Regions from separate parts of the Homo sapiens genome. Here all the other regions are linked to region 1. Evidence: promoter capture Hi-C in human tissues and cell types (Jung and others, 2019). All regions are on one chromosome and are shown on one strand. Each heading gives the region's core, a stretch centred on a gene start or on the middle of the fragment in contact. The rest is flanking DNA. Distances are from core to core; before and after follow the strand shown. Region 1 holds the start of PPCDC (phosphopantothenoylcysteine decarboxylase). Region 2 holds the start of PTPN9 (protein tyrosine phosphatase non-receptor type 9). Region 3 holds the start of SNUPN (snurportin 1). Region 4 holds the start of SNX33 (sorting nexin 33).

Region 1 (7,140 bases), core at 3,635-6,134:
TATCTGGTGAGGATACTCACCCCAGGAATGTCCAAAAGCTTTGACACCAGAAGAGGCAACTTCAGGGCTGCGACACTCCCCGTGACACCCACAAGAACATGGAATTTTCTCTCCATCAAGGGTGCAGCAGCTGGACAGGAGGCCTTTGGTTCCATGTGGGGTCTGGTGGCTTCAAGTTCTGGGAGCCTGCCAGGCCTGGGCTCTATAAAGCTGTCGGGATTTAGGATCTAAAAGGAGAACAAGGGCCACCCCCTTCATTCATACAGTCGACCAGAATGTATGGAGCACCACGTATTAGGCCCCAGGCCAGAGGCTGAGGCAGCGGAAGGGATCAGCAGTCCTGGCTTCAGGGAGCACACAGTTTGATAAGAAAGTGAGACACCTTCCCCACACATGGGCCAGTCACAAGGGAATGATGCAGTGCTGTGGGGAAGGGCTGTACCAGGTGCGTGGCTGCTCAGGGTGACCATCTCTAGAAGTCAGAGATTGCATCCCAGAAAAAATGACATTGGGGTTGAGTCCTGAAGGATGAGTTAGTTTTTCAGAGACAGGAAGAAATCACTTCAAAGGAAGGAACAATCTTGCCAAGGTGAAGGTCCTGAGGAGGGTGGCAGGTTGGGGAACAGGGAGTGGCTTACTAGTGAGGCCGGACTGTGATGGGGGGTGGTAGAGGGGCAGAAAGTGAGACTGAAAGTCAGGGTGAGGCCAGAATGCCGTGGGCAGCGAGGGCCAGGGTGAGGAGTTTTGGTTTTAGAAAGACGGTGCTGGCACCTGGTGACAGTGTCAAAGGGACCCTGTTAGTGGAGAGACTGGAGGGCGAGAGGAGCTGCTGCGGTGGACTGGGCTGACTGGTGAAAGGAAGCGGCAGGAAGGGATGGGTTCCAAAGATGCTCATGAGGTGGAACCCTGGGCAACAGGGAGGTTTGGGTGCTCCAGGGAGCCAAGAGATTTGCCTCTCTGTCCCTGTCCCTGTTAATCAAGATGGGCACCACCGTACAAATCAAAGCCCAGGAAGAAACCAGCATAAAGGGGATGCAGGCCACCCCAGGAGATTAGCTGGTTTGCTTCTTCCTCTGGCTCTCAGACGTTGCTAGAAGTGTGCACTCATGATAATATGGCTGATGGACACCAAAACCTACACGTGGCGGGTTGGGCCAGCAGAACGTGCTTCATCAGCAACCATCACTGAGGACCGATTACAAAGAACACCATGCAAAGGAATTGTGGAAAACACAGTAGCTGCCTCTGGGGAATCTGTAGGTTGAGTTTGAGAAGACAGGAATGACACCTGTCTGAAATTATTTGAGATCAGTCCTTCCCTGGGATGCACCTTTTTGGTGATCACAGACTCAATTAACACATCAGTTTCCTTGCCTCTCCCTCCACCAGCAAGCTCCCTGAATGTGTGACCGGGTCTAATTGCCAACCAGCAGTCCACTAGCCGGCAGTCCTGAACAGGTGCTGAATGAATAACTATACCCTCCAAGGCAGTGTGAGCAGAAGACAGATACCTAGCCTGTGAAGCAGAAGCCCTGGGCCCTGACCATGGTGTGCTCCTGACCTGGAGTGACCCTGGTCCAGGGTCATTCCCTCCCTGGACCTGTCCCTTCATCTGAAAAATGCAGAGGTAGGACCAGATGATCTCTGAAGCTCCTTCCAGCAGAAACTTTGAGTCAATACATGAAAGAGAGCAGTAAGGGGCTCTCCTTCCAAGACAGAAGGTCCTAGAAGATGCACTCAAAAAAGAATCAGCATGGCAAGGGAAACCCAGGCAGCTGCCCAGGAAGCAGCGCTGGTGAGTTGTCCAATGGCTACCTCCATGGCTGAGCATCCACAGGGGCCTATCTCCTCTTCACTCACAGGCCCCTTGGCTCTCTAGCCTCTCTGCCCAGGATTTGCCTTCAGCACTTGAGCACAACCCACGTGGGCTGAGGATCATGTTTGGCTGCATTATCCCACTTCTCAGCAGGGGTTAAGCACAGGCTGGTTCCCTAGGGCAAGATCACCCAAAGTTTGATTTGCCAGTAATCTCAATGTCTGCTCCACTGCAGGGCCCCAACCAGGGCAATGCTTGGCCAGAGTTGGAGAACTGAGTTTACCCCAGGGAGTGGGGAGCCCTGTTAGAATCTGACAAGGTACAGAAGGGCTACCAGCCAGCTTCTTCCCAGAACACATCATTGGTAGGTGATGGAGGCACATTCTTTATTCTCCAGGGAAACCTACCTGCCAGATCGCAAACCCTGACCCTGTCCCACCCTAGCCAACTGGTGCTAGGATAGGTAGATTCCTGCAAAACCAGAAGCCAAATTTTATCTCTGAGGCCCCTGAACCTCCTCCACATCAAGCTGATCTCATTCCTAGGAAACAGGTTACAGAAAGCAGTCAGTTAAACTTGGGGCAGGAATCTGTATTAGTGACTTCAACTGCTTCCCCACAGCAGGCACTATAGTCCGAAATACAGTACTTAGCCTGCTTAGCAAAGCTGTGCTAAGGATCAAACCTACCTACCTTCCTAAAAAAGAGGGTGTGTGTGTGTATGTGTGTGCTTAATATACTTGAAGAATAGAAAGTGGATCATTTAACCAACATTTGGAGGCGAGGTCCAATCAGTTCAACCTGAGAATTCCAGGAAGGGTGATGGCTGGCAGGATTCCTTCATTTGCTTGCAAAGAGGATCAAATTCCAAACCAGTAAGTCTATTACTGTAACCAGAACCTGTTGGAGTCACCTATTTGCACAGGTAGCTGTAGTACCTGACTTCCCCGGGCTCTGCTGAATTCACAGGAACTCCTGAGCAGCAAAAAGAGTTGGCAAGTGGGCAGGTTATAGGGCTACACGCTTTGATTACTGAGCCTCAAGATCCCAGGGCACTAGCCAAGCAGGTAAGCCACAGCCAGAAAAATGGCAGCTTCTCTATCCTCCAGAAAGACAGGGACAGACAGAGCAAAGAGCCTCAGCTTGTGATGTTTAAGTCTCCTCTGATGAGTTTAATTCAGGGCAGAGTTTTAGGTTTCAGGGATACCTGCCAGTCCCTATATGGGCAAAGGTGGAGCTGGCACAGAACCAGACTAAAGACAGAGCAAGGAAAGCAAGGCCAGACAGGGTATACGTTCAAGCTCAATACAGGAAGGATGAGAACTGAGCCTAAGACAAAGCAGAACCAAACAAGGGAAGTGGGTGGTGGGTAGGCAGGGATCCAAGATCCATTATGAGCCTGAATCCTTTAGCCTAACATCAAAGCCCCTCACTACCGGCTGCCCAGGCTTCTGCTCCAGCTTACACCTGTAATCCCAGCAATTTAAGAGGGCAAGGTGGGAGGATTGAGCAAACCCAGGTACTCGAGACCAGCCTGGGTAACATAGCAAGACCCCATACAAAAAATTTAAAAGTTAGTGAGGTGTGGTGGCACATGCCTGTGGTCTCAACTACTTGGGAGGCTGAGGCAGGAGGATCGCTTGAGCCTAGAAGGCTGCAGTGAGCCATGTTTGTGCCACTGCACTCCAGCCTGGGTGACAGAGAGAGACCATTTCAAAATATAATAATAGTACCACAAAAAAAAAAAAGTGTGTAGCTATTTACATAGCATTTACACTGTATCAGGTTTTATAAGTAATCTAGAGATTATTTAAATTATATGGAGGGCGTGGTGGCACGTGCCTGCAGTCCCAGCTACCTGGGAGGCTGAGGTGGGAGGATTATCTGAGCCCAGGGAGTTCGAAGATGCAGTGAGCTATGATTGCACCACTACACTCCAGCCTGGGAGACAAGAGTGAGACCCTGACTCAAAAAAAAAAAAAGAAAAGAAAAAAGAGTATACAGGAGGGTGATGTGGTGGCTCACACCTGTAATCCCAGCATTTTGAGAGGCCAAGGAAGGAGGATAGCTTGAGCCAGGAGTTTGAGACCAGCCTGGGCAACATGGTGAGACCCTGTCTCTACAAAAATGAAATAAAATAAAAATTAGCCGGGTATGGTTGTTTATGCCTGTGGTTCCAGCTACACAGGAGGCTGAGGCAGGAGGATCCCTTGAGCCCAGGAGGTCGAGGCTGCAGTGAGCCATGTTCCTGCCACTGCACTCCAGCCTGGGTCACAGAATGAGACCTTGTCTCAAAAAAAAAAAGTATACAGCAATCCCCTGCGGATACTGAGGGATAAATGTATCTAACACACACACTCACACACGTGGGCTACTAGAAAGGCAGTGACTGCGAATTGCTACTTCCCAGCCACTGTGAGAGATGTGGAAACCCCTGCTCCAGGACAACCACCACTTCCCCAACTTGGCAACCTCTCCTGCTCACCATCTAGCACCTGCTTCCAAATACTTCAAGGACAGCAGGAAGTTCTTTTCTGACAAGATTTGGCCTAATTTTTAAATAGCACTCAGCACTTTTTGGCAGGCCTAGGGCTACTTCCAACATCCCATGGCTTTCCTTTTTTAATTTTACCAACTTTTTAAATACACTTTGTACTTTGGGCAGCCCGGGTAAGCGTTCAGTGTGAGGAGCTGACACGGCCATCATTTAAACTAGATTAAACGACACTGGACAAATAATCGCAGAGCAGCACAAAGTCGGGCTGGACGGGTACAGATGCAAACCCTCCACTCAGGGCTCGGGGGTCCCTCCTGCTCCAGGCGGCCCCACCCGTACAGCCGGGAAAGTGAGGTCGCACAGATGGACGGCCGCCTACCCACGCACAGTCGCAAACAGAGCTTCATGGGCACACAGGGGAAAATAAGGACACACACAGACAGCCGTGGACCCACGCTCGCGGACACAGCTCCCCGAACCTCCCCTCCCGCGCCGCCGCGAGAACCCAGCTTCCCAGCCCCCTTCCACTGCTCACCCGCGCCAGGCGCGTCTCGGGGCCGCTCCCAAATATCGCGGTATCTCTGCCGCTCTCCCGCGGAATCTGACTGGCACGCCTCACGAGAGCACCGGGCTGGCTGTATGTCGCGCAGCCTTCTGGGAGCTGTAGTCCACTTCTCTGCCTTCCGGGAGTTGTAGTCCACTGGGGAAATCCTGGAGCAAACCCTGGCCCTGTTCTTTGTATTGCTGGGACTCTCGATAGGGGCTGGCATAACTGTCCGACCTCCTTTCCTCACTCCTATCAGCCCCACACACACTGCTTGTTGCTTGGGGCCTTTTTTTTTTTTTTTTTTTTTTTGCTGTTGTCCCAGGTTTATTGAAAATATTACAGTATCTCAAAAAGATTCAAACAGCTTCCACGTGGCGTTTTGAAATTCATCCCCACTGTTGGCTGAGTGACCTGCAGGTTGGACAGACTGCCAAAGTCCAAAAACATCAGCATTTCCTTAATGTCAGGATATGTTAATACTTCAATGATTTCCTGATCCAGGGCTGAGACCTCAGGAACATGATTATCTCTCCTTTCTCTCTTCTCCTCCTGCAACTTGATGCAGATACCTCTCACTGAGCGCTTCAAATCAGCTTCATCACATGCATGTTGTAGCCTGCTATCTTGTTGGGGAGCTGTTTTTTTTTTTGTTTTTTTTTTTTTTTTTGAGACAGGGTCTGGCTCTGTCACCCAGACTGGAGTGCGCAGTGGTGCTATCTCCACTCACTGCAACCTCCACCTTTTGGGCTTAAGCCATCCTCCTATCTCAGCCTATGGAGTAGCCAGGACTACAGGAGTGCACCATCATGCCAGACTAATGTTTGTATTTTTTGTAGAGACGGGTTCTCACTCTATTGCCCAGGCTGGTCTCAAACTCCTAGGCTCAAACAATCCGCCCACCTTGGCCTCCCAAAGTGCTGGGACTACAGGAGTGAGCCACCACGCTCGGCCCTGGGGAGCATTTTGCTGGAAATAATGGTGATCTCCTTGCACATGTGTTGTTTGTGTGGAAGTTGCTGCCCGGGTGTGTGTATTACTTTTTTATGACGAAGTATAGAAAAGGGCTATCTTCATGGTATTAGTGTGAATGGGGCCCATGTTGGCAGGTCCTTAGTAAAAGAGGGCTCGTGGCACTTAATATTTACCAAGCCTCTTCTATTTTAGGTGCACAGGATACAGAGATAAATCAGATGCGTCCCTGTTCTTGAGACAAACAGGGACACAGAAAATGACAGGGTAAGATCCTCCATGAGGAAGCAACACCTCTAGGCAGGAAAGCCTTCTTGAAGGAGTGACTTGAAATGAATCTTGAAGGACAGCCAGGAGGTTAGATAGAGGATCCCAATAGCGATCCAGGTGGAAGGCATCAAATGGGCAAAGGGAAGGCGGCAGAAGAACACACACTGGCATGCTTCCCTGCCCCCTTCATTTTCTAGCCTTCACAGGCCCCAGGAACCTCTGTATTCATTGAGGTGGCTGAACCAGCTGCGGGTCCCCTGCCCTGAGCTGAGGTGGGGCCTCTGCTCTACCCCCGCCCTTAGCCGCAGTGGACCATCTGGGCCAAACCATCCCTTACGCAGGGATCCAGCCGTGTCTTTTTTTTTTGAGATGGAGTCTTGCTGTGTCGCCCAGGCTGGAGTGCAGTGGTGCGATCTCGGCTCACTGCAAGCTCCGCCTCCTGTGTTCACGCCATTCTCCCGCCTCAGCCTCCCGAGTAGCTGGGACTACAGGTGCCTGCCACCTCGCCCGCCTAATTTTTTGTATTTTTAGTAGAGATGGGGTTTCACCGTGTTAGCCAGGATGGTCTCGATCTCCTGACCTCGTGATCCACCCGCCTCAGCCTCCCAAAGTGCTAGGATTACAGGTGTGAGCCACCACGCCCGGCCGATCCAGCCTGCTTCTTCTACTTCCTCCTCCCAAGGCAGGGGGCCTAGGTGGCAATTTCATCACCTACTGAAGGCTGCCTCAGAGAAGGAGCCACACAGGGTCGTATAGCTCTAGGTCTCGGGGAATGACAGACCACAGATCCACCCACCCCCCATACTTTCATGCCCCTGCCCCACAGCCCGCTGTGAGGCTCCACGCAAGTCCACAGGAAGACACATGACACAGCAGAACACACAGGGCCAAATGTTCCCCTTTATTATGGTTCACTCAGTTACCAAAGACAGACACATTGGCTCAGGCAGCTCAACTGCCAGCTGGGGAACATCCAGCTCCAGAAACAGGGAGCAGCAGCGGCACCAGGAGAATGGCAAAGCAGGTCACTGGGACCCCAGAA
Region 2 (6,959 bases), core at 2,106-4,605, 560 kb before region 1:
AATACTGAAACTAAAGGAGTGATGAAGTCAACCTCCAGTCAGCTGTATTGATGCAAAGGAGAAAATATCCTAGCTGAGATAAAGATTCAAATACCAAGGATATCGTCTCTGATTCTTACCAAGGGCAGCCTGAAGTTCCTATTGCATTAATGCAGAAATTAGTTGAGGTCAGGGATTGTTTTTAAAATCCTAGAAGGAGCCGGGCATGGTGGCTCATGCCTGTAATGCCAACACTTTGGCAGGCTGAGGCGGGTGGATTGCCTGAGGTCAGGAGTTTGAGACCAGCCTGGCCAACACAGTGAAACCCCATCTCTACTAAAAATACGAAAAATTAGCTAGGCATGGTGGCAGACACCTGTAATCCCAGCTACTAGGGAGGCTGAGGCAGGAGAATTGCTTGAACCTGGGAAGTGGAGGTTGCAGTGAGCTGAGATCGTGCCATTGCACTCCAGCCTGGGCAACAAGAGCGAAACTCCATCTCAAACAAAAACAAAAATCCTAGAAGGCTGGGCACGGTGGCTCACACCTGTAATCCCAGCACTTTGGGAGGCTGAGGCAGGAAGATCGCCTGAGCCCAGTGTAACTGCCCAATGGGATCACCTTGCCTGCTGCTTACACAGCGGATATATCAAGACAGGGGAATTGCAATGGCAAAAGAGTAATTCACACAGAGCCGTCTGTGCAGGAGAGTGGAGTTTTATTATTATTATTATTATTATTATTTTGATTCAGCGTCTCGCTGTTTCGCCAGGCTGGAGTGCAGTGATGCGATCTTGGCTCACTGCAACCTCCACCTCCCGGGTTCAAGCGCTTCTCCTGCCTCAGACTCCCGAGTAGCTGGGACGACAGGTACGCGCCACCATGCCCAGCTAATTTTTGTATTTTTACTAGAGACGGGGTTTCACCATGTTGGCCAGGATGGTCTCGATCTCTTAACCTCATGATCCGCCTGCCTCAGCCTCCCAAAGTGCTGGGATTACAGGCGTGAGTCACCATGCCCGGCCTGGAGCTTTATTATTACTGAAATCAGTCTCCCTGGAGCATTAAGGGATCAGAGTTTTTAAAGATAATTTGGTGGGTAGGGGCTTAGGAAGTGGAGAGTGCTGATTGGTCAGGTTTGAGATTGGATCATAGGGAGTTGAAATGAGTTTTTCTTGCTGTCTTCTGTTCCTGGTTGGGATGGCAGACCTATTTGGGCCAGATTACCAGTCTGGATGGTATCAGCTGATGCACTGGGTGCAGGGTCTGCAAAATATCTCAAGCACTGATCTTAGGTTTTACAATAGTGATGTTATCCCCAGGAGCAGTTTGGGGAGGTTTAGACTCTTGGAGCCCATGGCTGCATGACCCCTAAATTGTAATTTCTAATCTTGTAGCTTAATCTGTTAGTCCTGCAAAGGCAGACTGGACCCCAGGGAAGAAGGGGGTCTTTTCGGGAAAGGGCTATTATCAATTTTGTTTCAGAGTCAAACCATGAACTGAATTCCTTCCCAAAGTTAGTTCGGCCTATGCCCAGGAATGAACAAGGACAGCTTAAGGGTTAGAAACAAGATAGAGTCAGTTAGGTCTGATTTCTTTCACTGTCATAAAATCATCAGTTATAATTTTGCAAAGGCAGTTTACCAGGAGTTTGAGACCAGCCTGGGCAACATAGTAAGACCCCTATCTCTACCAAAAAAAAAAAAAAAAAAATTAGCCAGGTGCAGTGGTGTGCACCTGTAGTCCCACCTACTCAGGAGGCTGAGGCGGGAGGATTGCTTGAGCCCAGGACTTTGAAGCTGCAGTGAGCTGTGATCACGCCACTGCACTCCAGCCTGGGCAACAAAGTGAGACCCTGTGTTAAAACAACAACAACAACAACAACAACTTTGGGAGGCCGAGGTGGGCGGATCACGAGGTCAGGAGATTGAGACCATCCTGGCTAACATGGTGAAAGCCCGTCTCTACTAAAAATACAAAAAAATAAAAAAAATAAAAATAAAAATTAGCCGGGCGCGGTGGCGGGTGCCTGTAGTCCCAGCTACTTGGGAGCCTGAGGCAGGAGAATGGCGTGAACCTGGGAGGGGGAGCTTGCAGTGAGCCGAGATCGCGCCACTGCACTCCAGCCTGGGTGACAGAGTGAGACTCCGTCTCAAAAAAAGAAAAACAAAAAAGCCAGGCGCGCGGTGGCTCACGCCTGCCTGTAATCCCAGCACTTTGGAAGACCGAGGCGGGCGGATCACAAGGTCAGGAGTTCGAGACCAGCCTGACCAACATGGTGAAACCCCGTCTCTACTAAAAATACAAAAATTAGCCGGGCGTGGTGGCTCGCACCTGTAATCCCAGCTACCCAGGAGGCTGAGGCAGGAGAATCGCTTGACCCCGGGAGGTGGAGGTTGCAGTGAGCCGAGATCGCGCCACTGCACTCCAGCCTGGGCGACACAGAGACTCCGTCTCAAAAAAAAAAATAAAAAAAAAATCATAGGAGCATCACAACTCACAGCACCTTCCTGTTGTCTGAAGGCCCCTCCTTTGGGTCCCTCAGGACTGGCTCCAGGGCTTCAGCCTTGGAACTAGTTGTGGACTTTGGGTCCCTTTGGAATATTTATCTTTGGCTTGGAATAATGCAACAACGTACCAGACCCAGCCTTGCCTTCTCTATGCCCCATTCCTCCCCAAATGACTCCAAGACTGTACCCCTAATCCTGAACCCTTTGCTGCACTTGCCCTAGTGAAAATCAAAGGTCTGCAAAGGCCGCGTCATTCCTGAATGATGTTCGGAGTCTGATGTCGTTTCTATGGGGGATTAAAATTAGCGACACTGGAGATGAATTACAGGGTGCAGCCAGTAAGGAGGGAGAGAGAGGGAGGCAGGTGCGATTCCTTCCACCTAAGCATCCTGGCCTGGCAGGCAACCTTTCCAGGGTCTTTCAGGCTGCAAGCGACAAATAGTTGAGGATTGTGGGTTTCTCACGCGTAGGTGGCAGCGGCAAGTTAACCCCAGGAGAGGTGCCAGTCAGCAGATAATTTGCAAACGAACGTATTCTCCTCCTCCTCCGAGGATCTGAGCCTCACGAAATACTCTTTTCTTCCTTTTTCTCCCTCCCGCAGTCGAGTTGCCTTCCGTCCAGCTAGGGTCCCCTCCCCGCCCGGGTCCCCTCCCCCTCCCGGTCCCCTCCCCCGCCCGGGCTCCTCTCTGTCTCCCCCTCCCGGACTGCGTCCTCGCTCCGCCGGGCCCTCCTCGCCGCCAGCTTGTGAATGAGACGCTCAGTTTCTCAATGGAGCCGCGGGGGGCTCGGGCGGCCGCGGGGCGGCCGCAGCGTTGGCCGTGAGTCAGGAGGGGGGCGCGTTTCCCTCGCTCCCTCTCCACTCCCTCCCTTTCGCTGCGGCCGCCCGCGAGGAGCCTGGCTGAGGCAGCCGCGCAGGTCGCAGGGCCAGCGTCCGCGAGGACGGCCCGGCTGGGCGGCCCCGAGCTCTGTGGCGCTGTGGAGGAGCGGGAGCGCGGCCGAGGAAGCGGGGCGCCGAGGGGGTCGGCGGCCTTCGGGAAATTTCCGCCGACCCTTCGCTCCCGGCTCTAAAAGTTCCTGATTTCCTATTTCCTTTTAAATCCCGAGTGGCTGTTAGCTCTTCGCCTGCACTTTTTCTTCCCCAGGAGATAAGGGGGAGTGTGAGGAACGGAGCGAATAATATAAAAAAGGATTTCCTCCCGGAAGAGAGCGGCAGTTCGGAGAGATTTTTCTTAAGGAAGCAGAAGCGGCGTTTGCGGCCGCTGCAGGCGCCGGGCCCTGCCGGCCACACTATGCGCGAGCCGGCCCCGGGCTGCTGAGGCGCGGGGACGCGGAAGCGGAGGCCGAGCGCGCCGGGCTCCCGCGCTCGCGAGCGAGTTTTGTCCGCCCGGCGGCGGTGGCGGGGGGATGGAGCCCGCGACCGCGCCCCGGCCCGACATGGCGCCGGAGCTGACCCCGGAGGAGGAGCAGGTAAGCGGGCCCGAGGCCGCCGCGTTGGGTGTGTCCGGGCCCCCGAGGCCTACGCCGGCCTCTGCCTCCCGAGTGCCGGCTCTTTGCAGCCACGGGGCCGCAGCCCCCCGCTCCCGTGCCCGGCTCGCGGGCCTCCCTCACCGGCGACCGCGCCCCAGGCCGCCACCCCCTCGTCGGGGGACCCACGGGACCCTACTCCCGTTCCCGCCGCTTCTTTCGCCGAGGCTTACCAGCCTCAGACGGTGCCCTCCGCACCCCACCCCCTATTCCAGGGGCAAAGTTCCTTGGATCCAGGGGCCTTCTTCCCGAGATTTGCAGAACCGCTGCTTGCCCCCGGCCCTTCCACTCCCTTGTAAATGTTTTCCGTGAGGGTTTGTGGCTTTTGAAGGGCAGGAAAAGCCCCAGTTTGGGGGGTGCTTCCTGTGGGGATTATCTCCCTTCCCGAGGAGAGGGCTGAGAGTATTGGATGCATAGATGCCCTAGATTTTCAGAGGAGCCTCTTAGGTTTCTCAGGCCCACTTGGGCAGGTTATGGAAGATCCAGCCCTTCTCGTGTTCCTAAAGTCCCTGGCCTTGACCCCCCTATTCAGCTATCCCAGACGGGGCGCATCTCCTCACCCGCGCTTCCCTACCCTCGTCTCATCTGACTGTCTCCATCTTTCTGAAGCTTACATTGAGCTCTATTGTTCCTTAAAAGCCTATGACCTTTAGTTTTCAGAAGGAAGTGGTTTGCTGTCTCATTTTGGGGGCCCTTGTAACTTTCCCTCCCGCACATTCCAGCTGCGGAGACAGGGACCACTCCTGAGGAAGATGGGAAGGTCTGCTAGCTTAGACTGGGAACCCTACGGGCTTTTCGCTGTCTCTTCCTTGGCACTGCCCATACCCCGCCATAGCTATGCTCGATTATAGTCATAGTCTGATTCCATGTTATAAATAAAAAAAATAAAAATAAACATGAAAAAAGAAAAAGGCAAACCATGCTGGCAACCCATTTCAAGCTCTACAGCTCTTGTTTCCAAGGACCACATTTGCTAGCACAGCCTCTAGTGTGAAGACAGTCCAGTTTTACAAACTATTATTGGCTAATGGGCTTGTTGACCTGATTTTTTAAAGTCCTTGTCTTTTCTCCTTATTTGTGGAGATGACATTTTTCTATTTGGCCTCAGGCCACGGTTTTGTCTTTTGACACCTGGTGATGAAATCTGTATGGGAAAAAAATTTAAAAAGAATTCTGCTTTGTACAAGCAGTGGTAATGAATGTCCTGGTAACTGCAGTTGGATGTTAATAAAATGCTAGTCAGACCCTAGTGCAAGCAGGTGGCCAAGGAGCCCATTCTGCCAGAATTGGGAAGTACTTCAGTACTAAGATAGGATGTGTTGGCTGATTTTAAAGGGACAAAATCTCTTTCTTTCATCCTTTTCCTTGGGTCAGTCAGATTTCTGTTTTTAAGACTTAAAGCCATCAGTATTCTATGCAAATAGCATCCGTTGCAAATTTGAAAACTAAAACCAGGAAAAGTAAATATTAAAGTATTGATAGTATTGACATGGTATTGGCTTTACTTTGTACATAGTGCATACACATATATACAGATGTGTTTAACTAGTAAAAACCTTATCTTTTACCCTGAATTGAATGTGATGGGCATTAACAAGGACTAGGATGGAAACGGCAAAATGTTTATTAAAGTCAAGAGATTGTGTGTGTGTGTGTTTTTAAAATCTTATCTCTTTTTTCTACAAAATATTATTTTTTTACAAGCATTTCAAAATATTGAAACAAAAGCAGTATAGTTCTAATTATGGTAATGCCTAATGTTACCATATTTTAGTTTAATATCACATAAGAGTACTCTCTTTTTTTTTGAGATGGAGTTTTGATTTTTTGTTTGTTTGTTTGTTTTTTTGAGACAGAGCCTCGCCCTGTCATCTAGGCTGGAGTGCAGTGGCCTGATCTTGGCTCACTGCAACCTCTGCCTCCAGGGTTCAAACGATTCTCCTGCCTCAGCCTCCCGAGCAGCTGGGATTACAGGCGCCTGCCACCATGCCCAGCTAATTTTTGTATTTTTAGTAGACGCGGGGTTTCACCATGTTGGCCAGGCTGGTCTTGAACTCCTGACCTCATGATCTGCCCGCCTCGTCCTCCAAAAGTGCTGGGATTACAGTCGTGAGTTACTGCGCCTGGCCGGAGTTTGGGTTTTGTTGCCCAGACTGGAGTACAATGGCGTGATCTCGGCTCACTGCAACCTCCATCTGCCGGGTTCAAGCGATTCTCCTGCCTCAGCCTCCTGAGTATCTGGGATTACAGGTACCCACCATGCCCAGCTAATTTTTGTATTTTTAGTAGAGATGGGGTTTCACCGTGTTGGCCAGGCTAGTCTCATCATACTCCTGGCCTCAGGTGATCCACCCGCCTTGGCCTCCCAAAGTGTTGGGATCACAGGTGTGAGCCACTGCACACAGCCAGAAGTACCCTTTTGTTTTTTAACTGAGTCTTGCTCTGTTGCCAGGCTGAAGTGTAGCGTTGTGATCTCGGCTCACTGCAAACTCTGCCTCCCTGATTCAAGCGATTCTCCTGCCTCAGCCTCCCAAGTAGCTGTGACTTCAGGCGTGCGTGCCACCATGCCCAGCTAAGTTTTGTATTTTTACTAGAGACGGGGTTTCACCATGTTGGAGGATGGTCTCGATTTCTTGACCTCGTGATCCACCCGCCTTGGCCTCCCAAAATGCTGGGATTACAGGCCTGGGCCGCTGTGCCCAGCCAAGAGTACTCTTTTTTTTTTTTTTTTTTTTTTTGAGATGGAGTCTTGCTCTGTTGCCCAGGCTGGAGTGCAGTGGCGCAATCTCGGCTCACTGCAAGCTCCACCTCCTGGGTTCATGCCATTCTTCTGTCTCAGCCTCCCGAGTAGCTGGGACTACAGGCGCCCGCCACCACGCCTGGCTAATTTTTCATATTTTTAGTAGAGACGGGGTTTCCCCATGTTAGCCAGGATGGTCTCGATCT
Region 3 (7,166 bases), core at 4,256-6,755, 600 kb before region 1:
GTGAGCCACTGCACCCGGCCCATAACTGACTTCTTTACTGTCCTACAAGGTGTCTCCAGGTGGCCAATGAGAAGCACTGGTCCTCAAAATGGCTTAGATGGTGCATGGCCTTGGCCTTTAACAACATCGATTTAGGGAGGAAGTTGTTCCCTTTCCTATTTTCTCTCAGATCTAATAAACCTCAGGGGGAAAGTTTTGGCTGGGGACTAGACTAGGACGCATGTATAATTCGTGCTAATTTCCCCTATTTTATGAGTAATAAACTGGCCAGGCATGGTGGCTTACACCTGTAATCCCAGCACTTTGAGAAGCCAAGGCAGGAAGATCTCTTGAGCCCAGTTTTTCAAAACCAGCTTGGGCAATATAGCTAAACCTCGTCTCTAAAAAAATAAATTAGGCCAGGCGTGGTGGCTCAGGCCTGTAATCCCAGCACTTTGGGAGGCAGAGGTAGGCGGATCACCTGAGGTCAGGAGTTCAAGACCAGCCTGACCAATGTGGAGAAATCCCGTCTCTACTGAAAAATACAAAATTAGCCAGGCATGGTGGCTCATGCCTGTAATCCCAGCTACTTGGGAGGCTAAGGCAGGAGAATTGCTTTTTTTTTTTTTTGAGACAGAGTCGTCTCGCTCTGTCGCCCAAGCTGGAGTGCAGTGGTGCGATCTCGGCTCACTGCAAGCTCCGCCTCCCAGGTTCACGCCATTCTCCTGCCTCAGCCTCCCGAGTAGCTGGGACTACAGGCGCGTGCCACCACGCCCAGCTAATTTTTTGTATTTCTAGTAGAGATGGGGTTTCACCGTGTTAGCCGGGATGGTCTCGATCTCCTGACCTTGTGATCCACTCGCCTCGGCCTCCCAAAGTGCTGGGATTACAGGCGTGAGCCACTGCGCCCGGCGGCAGGAGAATTGCTTGAACCCGGGAGGTGGAGGTTGCGGTGAGCCGAGATAGCACCATTGCACTCCAGCCTGGGCAACAAGGGCGAAACTCCATCTCAAATAAATAAATAAATAAGATAAATAAATAAATTAGCTGGGTGTGGTGGCATGCACCTGTAGTTCCAGCTACTTGAGAGGCTGAGGTGGAAGGATCACTTGAGCCCAGGTGATTGAGGCTGCAGTGAGTTGTGATCAAACCATTGCACTCTAGCCTGAGCAACAGAGTAAGACTCCATCTCAATAAAAAGAGTAACAAACTGTCCAGGTTTTATTTTTAGATTATATCTTAATCCTATCACATCCCCCGACATACTTTCATGCAAGGTCTGCTCACTGGCTTCCACGCCTCCACACTTGGTTGCCTACATTCAGTTGTCTACCAAGTAGCCAGCGGGAGCTCACTAAAGCTGGAATCTGCTATCTCATAACTGTTTAAAAACCCTCATCTGCAGACAGGCATGGTGGCTCACACCTGTAATCCCAGCACTTTGGGAGGCCAAGGTGGGCGGATCACCTGAGGTCAGGAATTCGAGACCAGCCTGGCCAACATGGTGAAACCCCGTGTCTACTAAAAATATAAAAATTAGCCAGGCATGGTGGCGCATGCCTGTAATCCCAGCTACTTGGGAGGCTGAGGCAGGATTGCTTGAACCTGGGAGACGGAGGTTGGAGTGAGCAGAGATCGCACCACTGCACTCCGGCCTGGGCGACAGAGCAAGATATGTCTCAAAAACAAAAACAACCCCCACGCACCCCCCAAAAAAATAAACCCTCTTCAGCAGTGGAGGTAAAATCCAAACTCCCCACCGTGGCCTGAGGCCCTTACCTGCCCCTGTGTCCCAGCAGCCTCTGTGATCTTACCTCCCTCCATTTCCCCTCTGGGCTGGACACCTTCCTGCTCTCAACCTTCTCTTTTCTAAGTAAGGATTCTCCTGCCCATGGGCAACCAGAAGATTTTAAGGGGTACACAGATTCCACTTTAATGACATTGAATAATAGAGTGAGAAAGTGGTTCTTCCCTCTTCTGTCCTCTTTGAATTTTTCTGATTACGTCAAAGAAAAATTCTGTTAGTGTGACTCCTTATCACTTCAACACTTGCTAATCTCTGATTTTTACAAAGTCCCCAGACTTACAGCTTTCTGCAGACATCCATATCTATCTAGCAAGATTATATTAGGTTGGTGCCATTAATTTTAATGGCAAAAACTGCAATTACTTTTTTTTTTTTTTTGAGAAGTAGTTTCACTCTTGTTGCCCAGGCTAGAGTGCAATGGCGCCATCTTGGCTCACCACAACCTCTGCCTCCTGGGTTCAAGCGATTCTCCTGCCTCAGCCTCCTGAGTACCTGAGATTACAGGCATGTGCCACCACGCCCGGCTAATTTTATATTTTTAGTAGAGACGGGGTTTCTCCATGTTGGTCAGGCTGGTCTCAAACTCCCGACCTCAGGTGATTTGCCCGCCTCGGCCTCCCAAAGTGCTGGGATTACAGGCGTGAGTCACTGCGCCCGGCCAAAAACTGCAATTACTTTTGCACCAGCCTATAACATTATTTTCACGTATTTATTTATTTACTTATTTTTGAGATGGAGTTTCGCTCTTGTTGCCCAGGCTGGAGTGCAATGGCGCGATCTCGGCTCACTGCAACCACCGCTTCCTGGGTTCAAGCAATTCTCTTGCCTCAGCCTCCCGAGTAGCTGGGATTACAGGCATGCACCACCATGCCCAGCTAATTTTGTATTTTTAGTAGAGACAGGGTTTCTCCATGTTGGTCAGGCTGGTCTCGAACTCCTGACCTCAGGTGATCTGTCTGCCTCAGCCTCCCAAAGTGCTAGGATTATAGGCATGAGCAATGTATTTATTTTATAGATACCTTCTAATAAAGTGGGAAGTGATTGATGTAAGGTAATGCTATGATGTTGCCCTTTTTTTTTTTTTTTTTGAGACAGAGTCTTGCTCTGACACCAGGCTGGAGTGCAGTAGCGCGATCTCGGCTCACTGCAACCTCCGCCTCCCAGGTTCAAGTGATTCTCCTGCCTCAGCCTCCCGAGCAGCTGGGACTACAGGCATGCGCCACCATGCCCAGATAATTTTTGTATTTTTAGTAGAGATGGGGTTTCACCATGTTGGCCAGGATGGTCTGGATCTCTTGACCTTGTGATCTGCCCGCCTTGGCCTCCCAAAGTGCTAGGATTACAGGCATGAGCCACCACACCTGGCCAATGTTGCCCTTTTAAATAAATGTAGTCAGGCTTTTTTCTTAAATTAATTGATTTAAAGACATAAAGCACAGTGTGTGCATGTGGCCAACATTCTGAAGCTGAGATTCCAGAGGTAGCCCCTTCTGAAACACCCACTGGCTCTAAATGAACCCCTGGGCCAGGTGCTCTGGTTTTTGTTTGTTTTGAGACAGAGTCTCCAGGCTGAGTGCAGTGGCAGGATCACAGCTCACTGCAGCCATGACTTCCTGGGCTCAAGTGATCCTCCCACCTCAGCCTTCCAAGTAGTTGGGATCATGACTCATACCACTACACCTAGCTAATTTTTTTTTTGTGGAGATGGGTTTTTGTCATGTTGCCCAGGCTGGTCTCAAACTCATGGGCTACTTCCACCTTGGCCTCTCAAAGTGGTGGGATTACAGGCATGAGCCACAGTGCCTGACCTGGTTTTGTTTTGTTTTTTCAGTGATATGGGAAGTTATTCAGCTAGGTGTGAGTGAGGAACTAGAACATTTCTCCTGGACCTCCAGGCATGAATTTGGGAACTTCTTTCTCAGTCTCAGTCTATTTTCCTAAAATGTTTAAGGTCTTTATTCTTTTCTATGCAGCCCGACCATTAGATGTGACCTCCGTGGTTGTAAGGGATGGTTGTTTGGACACAAAATACCTAATATCCTGGGTGTCAAAATTCCCTAGTGAAGTCAGGCCCTGGACTTCTCTTTTTTGTCAGTCTCATAAATCAGGCAGACATGAGCTTTTATTTGTGGATGCACCAAATAAATACCCTAGTGGACAGCTTTGCTCAGCCTGGCCACTGAAAGAGCCACCTAAATAAAATCTCAGGTCCAGGCCGGGTGCGGTGGCTCACGCCTTTAATCCCAGCACTTTGGGAGGCCGAGGCGGGCAGATCATGAGGTCAGGAGATCGAGACCATCCTGGCTAACACAGTGAAACCCCGTCTCTACTAAAAATACAAAAAAATTAGCCGGGCATGGTGGCAGGCGCCTGTAGTCCCAGCTACTCAGTAGGCTGAGGCAGGAGAATGGCGTGAACCCGGGAGGCGGAGCTTGCAGTGAGCGGAGATTGCGCCACTGCACTCCAGAGCCTGGGCGACAGAGCGAGACTCCATCTCAAAAAAATAAAAAAAAATCTCACGTCCAGAAAAATTGGCCTTCCAGGGCCCCAGAACCCTTTTTACCAGTCTAGTAATAGCCTTTCATCAGCCTAATTTCCTATTCTTTTTAGTCTGAATGTATGGTGTAATGTGCATAAAATACACAAGTCCAAATTTTAGCATTCCGTGGACGCAAAATGTGCCAAAGGTGGATACTTTGCTTCTGTCATACATCGGTAGTCAACTTCCCTATACATCAAACTTTCAGCAAATTCAAACATTTTCCTTGAAAGCTGTGTTACTTTGGCCAAATTACTTAACCTCTCTGAGCTTCAGTGTGTCTACTTCCTCATGTCATGATTAAGAGTTAATATCTACTGGCTTAAAAAAGAAAAAAAAGGAAAAAAATTAAATGAGATGATGGGTGTGAAGCAGGGATTGGCTGAATGTAAGCATTCAATAAATATTCAGTTTTAAAATTGTAATCTCAGCCTTCCCGCCCTGCAGAGGCTACACCCTGGCAGGACTTAATCTCCTAAATCTCTGCCGCTTACCCTAGTCTTTTGCACCAATTTAATCATTCCTTCACGCAGGGTCTACTGAGCGCCATCCCTTGTGCTGGACTCTGGCTACTTAAATAGGAATCAAGCCAGGTCCCTACCATTGCTCAGCCCGCAGCCGAGTGGGAAAGAAGCTCGCAAAAGCAGCAAACAGGCAGTAATCGAGGTATGTATCTGCTTTTGTTAAGGGCAAGTGGGGGAGCGAAGGTCTGTGTCTGAAACTTGGGTGTGAGGGGTTAGTTGGAGTAATCCAGGCAATTGGCACTGCCCGTTTAAGAGCACGGGCCCAAGAGGGGAAGGGGACTCCAGGTGAAGCCCTAAGGCCCGGGAAGATCTGCGGGAGGCGGCAGGGCCCAGGGCGTTGAATGCCCGGCCACAAGATCAGCCTCCTCCCATTGGCGAAAGGAGCCCCGAAGAGCTTGTGTTCAGGAGGGAGGCCTCGGCCTGGTCAAGTCATCTAGCAGGAAGAGTCCCGGACAGTGCAAAGCAAATGCAAGAAGACCCCCTCCCTAGCCGATGGGAAATGCCCCAGCCGTTGAAGGCGGAAATAACGGCCTGTAGGCAACGGAACTCCCAGCGTTCGCAAAGGAGGGAGGAGCCGGAAACTCAGGGCGCGAGGCCTGTGGGCCCAGCGGTGAGGCAGCAGCTGGGGGCGGGGGGAGGGCGGACCTAGCTTCCCAGGGCAGGTGATTCGTCGGCCCCGGTGGCGGCGGCGCGTGCGACGGTCACCTCGGTTTGGGTGAGTCCCTGGGTTCGAGCCCGGGCCCCGCCAGCTGCCGAGTTGCCTCTCGGTGCCGGACTGTGACTCCCTCTGGCCGGCCCTGCACTCTGGCCTCCTGGGACGTCATCTGGAGGGATAGAGCCAGGCCTGGGACTCCTTTTGGGAGAGTTTCCGTTCTTCTATTCCGTGCTGTCCGGCCAGGACCCCTCAGGGACTTCTGTGGGGCAGGGGCGAATCATGCATGGCCTAGATGACCCCATGCCTAGAAAAAGGCAGTGCGGGGCGGTGGCGGCGCGCACGGCCGAGTGAAGCAGATAGCGTCCCCGGGGCTGGAGCCCGGTAGCAGGGGTAGGGAAACGCGGAGGCTGCCAGGATGCGGACCCAGGGGACGCGAGGCGGGGGCGCCGGATGGGGAGACGCGAAGGAGGGGGAAGGGGATGGGGGAGGGGGCTAGACAGGGAGGGAGGGTGGAGCGTGGGCGGGGCCTGGGGCGGGTCGGACTTTAGGGAGTTGGAGCGGGGGTTACTGGTGCTAAGACCACCTGGGGCTAAGGTCCGAACACTTGGAGGCAGCACCATCCAAGGAATGGGTTGAAACAGCAGGAGCCCGGCGGGGCGCAGTGGCTCACGCCTGTAATCCCAGCACTTTGGGAGGCCGAGGTGGGCGGATCACCTGAGGTCAGGAGTTTGAGACCAGCCTGACCAACATGGTGAAACCCCATCTGTACTAAAAATACAAAAAAAATTAGCCGGGCGTTGTGGCGCGTGCCTGTAATCCCAGCTACTCGGGAGGCTGAGGCAGGAGAATCGCTTGAATCCGGGAGATGGAGGTTGCAGTGAGCCGAGATCATGCCACTGCACTCCAGCCTGGGCAACAAGAGCGAAACTCTGTCTCAAAAAAAAAACAACAACAACAAAGAAAAAACAAAACGAAACAGCAGGAACCCGCCAAGAACAGCCTTGAAGGAAGGTAAAGGAACCGCCCCAGTATCCAGGACATCAGTTTTTCTTTTTTTTTTCTTTTTGAGACGAAGTCCAGGCTGGAGTGCAGTGGCACGATCTCGACTCACTGCAAGCTCCGCCTTACGGGTTCAAGCCATTCTCCTGCCTCAGCCTCCCGAGCATCTGGGACTACAGGCGCCCGTCACCATGCCTGGCTAATTTTTTTGTATTTTTTTTTTTTTTTTTAGTAGAGACGGGGTTTCACTGTGTTAGCCAGGATGGTCTCGATCTCCTAACCTCAGGTGATCTGCCCGCTTCAACCTCCCAAAGTGCTGGGATTACAGGCGTGAGCCACCGCGCCAGGCCCAGGACATCAGTTTCAAAGGTTGTGTGGTTCTTGGCAGAGCGGGAGCCCACACCAAGATAGTGCATGATAGGCCTAATAAAGGTGCTTTGGATTTGGTCATTACTTTGGTGATGAACTGAAAACATAATGACTTTTTAAAAATTTTTATCGGCCGGGCGCGGTGGCTCACGCCTGTAATCCCAGCACTTTGGGAGGCCGAGGCGGGCGGATCACGAGGTCAGGAGATCGAGACCATCCCGGCTAAAACGGTGAAACCCCGTCTCTACTGAAAATACAAAAAATTAGCCGGGCGTAGTGGCGGGCGCCTGTAGT
Region 4 (7,362 bases), core at 4,723-7,222, 620 kb before region 1:
CTGTGATCCGCCCACTTCGGCCTCCCAAAGTGCTGAGATTACAGGATGAGCGGTAGAGGGAAGGCTAGATGATGGCTCAGAACCCAGAGGCTGAACCCACCCATCCCCCAGGCAAGAACTTGTCCCTACAGTCGCCACTTTGCCTTGGCCACGCTGTCCCTATGGCCCCTCCATGGAAGCTCTGTGGTCCTGGGCCTCTCTCTAGCCCACAGGACCAGTGAAGGAGCACCCAAGCCTTCCTCCCTCCTCTTTCGCCTTCTGGCTCAGCTCTCCATCCCTGGGGATCCCCTCCCCCATCTGGGAGGGCACAGTGGAAACAGCCTGGGCTGCGGAGCCAGACACACTGGACTCCAGCTCCTGCTCTGAGGCTCATCTGCATCGCTGCACCTCGTCTGTAAAACGGAAGTGACCACATCGCCCTCCTGACCTGTCGTGAGCCTTAGGACCAGCCCCGCTCTTGCTGGCTGTCAAGTTGGGGGTCCATACGTCCCAGCTTGCCCTGGACAGTTACTTTCCCCTGTTGTCCCGGGATCACTATTGCTAGGGCCCCCTTTTATGCCCCAAACTGCCCTGGTTAATTATATGGTTACCCTTCTCTTAGGAGACCCCTGGATTGGGCTACAGGGACTAGGCCCGTGGGAGGACCAGGCTCCTCTCAGCTCCAGCCAGGGTTTATGTCCCATTTTATTTCATTTTATTATTTTTCTGAAAAGCATACAAATTTGTTTAATGTAAGTTTCACATGACATGGAGCCCTCCTAAGGAAATGAAGACCCTCGGGTCCCATTTTACTCACCTAGAGACTGAGGGGAGAAATCTCTCCCAAAGTCATGTCAGATGCAAAGTTTGTCCAAATCCTGGTCTCCTGACTCCCACCTAGGCCTCCACTGTCCTTCCTCCCACACACTCACCACCCATTCAGATGTCCAGACAGGCTGGACAGAATCCTGGGGGCCCAGGACCCAACTGTTCTTCTCTTTTCTTTGAGAAGGGCTCCACCCCTAAGGCCAGCATTAGGACCCCCTCCTTATCACTCCCATTGGGCTGTGGTCCCCAAAGCCTGTCCAGTTCTGTCTCAGTACCCCCTCCCTAACTTGCCCCACACCACAGGCCTGGGAGGAGCAGTGCAGAGCCCAGAACTTAGAGTAAGCCAGAGAGGGCTTGGCCCATTGGGAGGGGTCCTCCCGGGGAGGGAAGGCAGTGGGCTGGCCTCTGTTTCAGGTCAAATGCACCAGCACAGAGGACAGTGGCCTCTGACTCTTAGAAACACCTCAAGTAGAAACTCAGAAATGGCCTATCTCAGCTCTGTCTCTCTGCCCAGGGTCAGAAAGGCTGGTCTGGCTTCCCCCCAGCCTGGGAGGCCCTGGTGTCCTTCCTAGGTGTGGGGCTGCCCTAATGTCCTCAGCTCTGCTCTGGGTGGGGGGTCCCCAGCCACTGCATGGGAGCATCTGTTTAATCATTGCATTCCCCCTCCTGCTGCCTGCACAGGAACAAGCCATCTAAGGAGCTGGTTGAACCAGCCTTCCCACTTGTGCTCAGGGAGACACCTGCCCCAGTGGGCCCCCAGCAGGCCTGGCCACCTCCCCTGCCCTACTCCTGCCCCAGTGCTCAGAGCCAGAGCTAAGGTGTCATTCTGTTTCTGAGCCATACCCTCCCCAGGAGTCCCTTCCCACCCACTCCCTTGAAGGCCTGATGGCTCACTGGGACCCCATTCCCTTGTTTTACAGATCAGGAAACTAAGGCCCAGAGGGGCAAAGGCACTCCCCGGGGACGCACAGCAATCTAGGGGCAGAGCCAAGACTAGCACTCAGGTTTGTGTTTCCTGGAGTTCAGAGGAGGAGGAAGAAAGGTAGAGATGAGAGAAAAAAAAAAAAAAACAGAAAGAAAGGAAGAGGAAGAGGATATAGCAAGGGGAGAAAGGAGGCTGGGAGCTGGAGAAGTTATAGAAGTCAACCTCTTGGTAAAGGAAAGCAAGGCCAGCTTACCCCAGGCCCTCCCTGGTGGTGGTGGGTGACATGTTTCCTGTTCCCCAGGCTCAGTGCAGAGGTCTGCCCCCTGGCCCCACCCAGAGTCAAACTCCCCACCAAGCCAGGTCTAACCTCAGGGCCCAAGGGCCAGGGAGCCAGCTCCACGCCCTGCAGACGAGTTACCAAGCAGCCCCAGGGAGGATCACACCTCTCTCCTGACATCTGCCCTCCCAGCTGTGCCCAGGACTCAGGCACCTGCTGGGGCAGCCACTGGCTCTCTCCTCAGGCAAGAAGAGAAGCCAGGCTTGGGAAGCAGGAGTTGGATAGGCCATGTGGACAGTGCCCTGGACCCCTGATTCTGCACCCCTGGCCCAGCCAGAGTGCCCCTGTGTGACCCAGGATGAGTCATTTCCCCGGCAGTTCATGGACAGCCCCAGCAGTAACAGGCAGAGGCCCATCCTGTCCCTCCCCCACAGAGGGGGTCATGAGAACTGAAAACATGGCTAGGCTTGGGAAGTGGCCAACATGGACGTGTCCTTGGGGAGGTGGCAGGAGGAAGGGACAGTCCCAGCCGGGCCACAGGCTGTGCAACCACTCTTCTGTGGACACTAGCTCCTTCATCTGCAAAATGGGGACAGGGATCTTCCTGCACACAGACAAGACGCTCATAAAGAGAATACACAGTGGTGAGAGTAGCTTCCAAAGCTGCAAAGGTGGGGAGGTTAACTTGCAAGGAGCACAAGACAGGCCCCCACTCTGAGCTCTTGTTATCTGGGTTGGGTCTGTGTCTCCCAAGGGCCTACCGGCTCCTCAAGGGCAAGGCCTGGGGCCTGGTCATCTATGTGTTCTCAGAACCCAGCATGACACCATGCATGATGGGTAAACGAGATGCAAACAGAGAAAATGAATGAACTGACAAGAAGGTAAATATCAAGCTCCATGAGGACAGAGACCGGGCCTGTGCACAACAATATCCCTGCACCTAGAAGCACATTTGCCACAGACACAGAGTTGATATTCAACACATTTGTTTGTTTGTTTGTTTGTTTGTTTGTTTTAGAGACAGGGTCTCACTCTGTCACCCAGGCTGGAGTGCAGTGGCACAATCGGGCTCACTGTAGTCTCAACCTCCTGGGCCCAAGTGATCCTCCTACTTCAACCTCCCAAAGTGCTGAGATTACAAGCGTAAGCCACCGTGCCCAGCCCAACACATTTGTTAAATGAATGATTGAGACAGAGAAATAAAGACAAGTTGCTCCATTCTATCCAGGCCATCCCCATCTCCCCAGGGCCCAGCAGAGAGCCAGACTCAGGACGAGTTTCCTGCCTGCACTGGGCCTTACCTTTTTGTAGATGGATGATGTCAGGGAAGTTGGAGAGCAGGCCCTGGTAGAGAGACAGTGTGTCCAGCATCTGGAAGAGGTCATTCTTGGGCTGCTCAGCAAACATCTCCCCGATGGCTTCATAGGTACGGCCCGTGTGAGAAATGGCACTGTTGAGGGCCTCAGAGCAAAAGGGGGGGTCCATCTGGAAGGAATGACTGATGGCCTGGAAGGCACTGCCCAGCTTCTGGAATTCCTTGCGGAAGCCCCCCACATGTTTACGCACCAGCTCTGATGCCACAGTGCTGAGCTGCAGGACGCTGTCGTCCATCTTCTTACTGAAGGCCTTGAAAGTGTCCACGCGATCTTCCACGTCCTGCAAGTCCTGGTGCTCGGTGGGGATCTGGAAGGTGAGCAGGAAGCTGGCACCCACCATCTCATCCTTCTCCGCCCGGCGTTTGCCCATCTTCCACTGCTTGTCATCCAGGCAGCTGAGGAAATGCTGGAAGCCTTCGTACTGGGAGAGCACAGGGTGGCTGGTCATGTGGTCCATCCAGAGGATGAGTCTCCGCTTCCGCTTTTCGATGAAGTCCTCCTCGAAGCGGCCAGTGGCCTGCTTCTCAGGCAGGTGGGGCACCGAGATGACAGTGAACTTGTGTAGCAGGCGGTTATAGAGCCAGTCAAAGTGTTTGTAGCGCCGGTAGACGGGTGAGGCAGCATGGGTGGGTGTGAGCTTGTAGGAGATGTAGCTTTTGATGCCCTTGAATTTGGTCTGTTTTGTGGGGTCCTCCACAGAGCAGGCAAATGGGTGGGGATTGGCCTTCCACTGGGGGCCACGAGGGCCCATTTCAATGGAGTATGTCTCAGCGATCTTGGCCATCATGGGCACATCACCCAGGATGAAGGCCTCCACTCCAGAACGCACAAAGCATGAGAAACGGTTGAGGTTACGGCCCACCACACTGCCTCGCTTGGCAGATGCCAGGCTGTCCTGCCGCTCCAGTGGTGGCTTGGGCCGGAAGGCCATGTGCTGGCTGGGGTAGGCACCAGGGTAGGAGAGGTTGAGGGGAGGGTGCCCGTTGGTGCCCAGCCCACCAGCCCGTGGCTCCTCCACCACTGTGCATCCGTCGTCCCAGTCATCCCAGTCATCATCATCATCCTCCTCAAAGCTACCCTGGTTTGAGAGGAAGCCACTGCCCCCACCACTCCTAGCTGGGCTGGCCACACTGGGGCTGTTGTACAAGCTCACCTGGGCTCCGGGAGAGCCTGCAGGGCTGCTGGAGTAGTCAGCATGGTTGGTGCTGATGCCAGAACGGACGATCTCCACATAAGAGGCAGGAAAGAGCCCTGTCTCCCCACGGCTGTTCTGGCCCTGCAGCCAGCCATCCAGTGAGGTCTCGCTAAAGATGACCAGGTCCTCATCCTGCTGGATGCTGATTTCCTCCTTGTTCTCACTGTGAAAGTCATAGAGGGCTCGGCCTTTCAGTGCCATGGCTGGGCTGGGTGGTATAGAAAGATGGGAAGGAGAGGGTCCTGCCCAGACCGGGGATGCTCACAAGGCAGTCCAAGAATGCACTCGCAGCTGAATGGCGCTTACACAGTTCAATCTCTCAGGTCCTAAGGTGGGGTCTCAGCACCCACAGATGCTGTCCAGTCTCCCCCTCTTCAAAGCAATGTCCATGGCCCAGAAACTGCCCTATCAGGTCTCCGGGCATATGCTTGTGAGCAGGGAGGGCTCATGTCCACAGTCTCCTCCTCCCTTAGCAGCCTCTGGGGGGTTAGAGGGGAATCTCTCCTAACTCCTACTCCCAGAAGAAAAGTCAAGTGACCTGGAGAAATCTGCCCTGCGAGGGGAAAAATTCGACACTTTCCACTGGAACAACGTTCTAAAATAGAAGAGACTCACTCTGAAACCACCATTCCAGAAACCCGGGCAGGGCTCGGCTGTCCCTCTGGCTCCCAGATTCTTTTGGCGGCTCTCGCTTTGGGAGGCTCTCACATTCCTCTGCAGATCTGCCCCTTCCTCCTTCCTCCTCTTGCTCCTGGGCCACTGGGTTTTCAAAAATCCGGAAAATCCAAGAGGGGCAAGGAGAAAAGCAGCAGCCGCCTGAATCGAGTCCAAGGGTGGATGTGTCCGGCTTCACAACGAGCCAGGCCGGGAAAACAAGGACTGAGGCTTACACAACAGGCCGCCAACTCTTCGACCCCGGCTGCGCAGCCGGAGCCCCCGCCGGCTCGGGCGCCCTCTCCCCGCCCCAGAAGTGGCCAGCCCCAACCCCGGAGGAAGGAGGGGGCGCGACGAGGCTGTCGGGCGACTTCTAGCCACTCGCTGAGTGGTCTCTTTTGTTTGCCTAATTCCTCAGCAGTTTCTGAGCCTGACGCTGACCCTGCTCTGAATCCCAGGAACCCCGTCCAAAGGTAACCCCAGCAGAAACCGGTTCCTCACCCGGGACTTACGACCCCCGATCACCACCCTCGCGTGCACGCACACACTCAACAGTTTGGAGTTTGGAGAGTGAGCTCCGGCGAGCAGATGGCGCGGCCAGCCGTCTGTCCGTCCGTCCTCCTCTCCGCCCTGCGGGGCCCGGCCAGTGGGGGGCGGGCTGCGCCCCCAGCCTGCCTTCCCCGGCGCTCGCAGACCCTCCGCTCCGCCAGCGAGAAGGCAGCTCCAAAACAAAAAGGCGATTCCGGGAGGTGGCGTCCTGAGGAAGGAGGGGATCGCCAAAGGGGAGGTGAGGGGTGGGGAGAGGGAGGAGGGAGGGGGAAGCAGGCTGGAGAATCGGGCAAACTCCGCTGCACTTCCGTGCGTCCCGGCGGGGCAGGGACGGCCAGCTCCGCCCTCCCGCGGGCCCGGGGCGCTGCAGCCGAGCCCCCGCCTACTCCTCCGCGCGGCTTCCCAGCTGGCCAGCGCCCTCGCTCGCTGGCGCTCAGTCCGGGAGGCGAGAGGGAGGAAACGACCCGGGAACGAGGGGGCCCGAGAGCCTCCGGGGCTGGTCCCTGGGACCGCCACCTCCCCTCCTCTCCCTCCGCCTGTCCGCCCTCGCCGGGAGACACCTCACGCCCCCGTGGTTGGAGCGCCCGGCGGGGGAGCTTGCCAGCTGCCGCTGCCTCGCTTCCTGGACTCCGTCATCCTCCTGCCTTTTCCGTGACGCAAATGGAGTAAAACTCCGAAAGTTTGCAAAGCGTGGGGCTGCAAGGAGCACCGCGCCAGAGCCAGGATCGGGAGATCGGGGTGGGGGGAGGGGGGTGCGTGGAAAGCCGCCGCGCCAGCTGGGGTTGGGGAGCAGAGTCGCGGACTCGCCTTCCCACCTTCCCATTCCCCACTCCTGCTCCGCAGGGACGGGTCGTGGCGCAGCTCAGAGATTGTTTTCCGGAGGAACAGAAACGGCCTGCGCGTTCCAGGCGTCTGACCTAAGATACCGAGAGCTGCGGGTGCAGCACCCTAGCCAGACAGGGCGACCCTGCCCTGGGCGACTAGCTTGGAAGGAGGGAAAGACACTACTCTACATCTGCAGCGACAGGGAACAAGTCTAGGTGCCACCCGGTTCCGTGTTGCTTAGTACAGCAGCGGGGACTGGATGTTCTGTGCTAGCCAGCGGCAGCAAGGAGAGAAGTGGTCAGGTAGAGAATCTTCGAGAAGAGGCAAGTGGGATCTGACCCTCGGTCAGCATATCGGGAACACTTTGGGCATTGATTCTGCTAGGCACTGTGCTGGGCACTGGGGAGTAGTACACCACAAGGCAGTCGGGGTTTCTATCCTGGGGGGCTTACAGTCCACCCTCTCTTGTCTTTAATCAATCCATTCTGTCTCAGTCATTCATTCAGCCAAGTCATGCACTCAAGAAACATTAACTGAGTACCTACTCTGCACCAGGCCCCTGAGCTACAAAGACAAATAAGACATTATCCTTATTTTCCAAAAGCTCAGATATGTTGTGACAAGTAGACAAATGCTCCCTGCCCAGTGTGACTAGTTAGTGCCATGAAAAGTGCACATGAGGGTACCTACCCCAGCCTGGGTAGAGCAAGGATCAAGGAAAGCTTCCTGAAGGAGGAAGTGCCTAAGATGAGGC

What was found. Contacts are between HindIII fragments. The study calls those that stand out against the background at their distance.
Region 2: a contact is called between the fragment with the promoter of PTPN9 here and the fragment with the promoter of PPCDC in region 1, in 3 of the 25 tissues and cell types used here (lymphoblastoid cells, mesenchymal stem cells and spleen).
Region 3: a contact is called between the fragment with the promoter of SNUPN here and the fragment with the promoter of PPCDC in region 1, in 1 of the 25 tissues and cell types used here (small bowel).
Region 4: a contact is called between the fragment with the promoter of SNX33 here and the fragment with the promoter of PPCDC in region 1, in 2 of the 25 tissues and cell types used here (lymphoblastoid cells and small bowel).

What each region holds. Positions count from the first base shown.
Region 1 is chr15:75,021,334-75,028,473 of GRCh38, reverse strand. PPCDC (phosphopantothenoylcysteine decarboxylase) reads right to left here and starts at 4,884. Exons shown (of 6, transcript NM_021823.5): 1 at 4,848-4,884; 2 at 21-227. The coding sequence starts at 155. SCAMP5 (secretory carrier membrane protein 5) reads right to left here. Exons shown (of 7, transcript NM_138967.4): 7 at 6,979-7,140. The HindIII fragment of the contact is 16,541 bases long and covers 1-7,140 here.
Region 2 is chr15:75,575,711-75,582,669 of GRCh38, reverse strand. PTPN9 (protein tyrosine phosphatase non-receptor type 9) reads left to right here and starts at 3,355. Exons shown (of 13, transcript NM_002833.4): 1 at 3,355-3,956. The coding sequence starts at 3,894. RefSeq lists silencers at 2,998-3,487, 3,748-4,147 and an enhancer at 3,190-3,788. The HindIII fragment of the contact is 16,601 bases long and covers 1-5,907 here.
Region 3 is chr15:75,624,064-75,631,229 of GRCh38, reverse strand. It overlaps SNUPN (snurportin 1), which reads left to right and starts at 5,505. Exons shown (of 9, transcript NM_005701.4): 1 at 5,505-5,564. RefSeq lists an enhancer at 5,137-5,326 and a silencer at 5,977-6,026. The HindIII fragment of the contact is 13,243 bases long and covers 1-7,166 here.
Region 4 is chr15:75,646,522-75,653,883 of GRCh38, reverse strand. It overlaps SNX33 (sorting nexin 33), which reads right to left and starts at 5,972. Exons shown (of 2, transcript NM_153271.2): 1 at 3,311-5,972. The coding sequence starts at 4,781. RefSeq lists enhancers at 1-345, 346-898, 1,863-2,799, 5,497-6,188 and a silencer at 5,814-6,353. The HindIII fragment of the contact is 33,754 bases long and covers 1-7,362 here.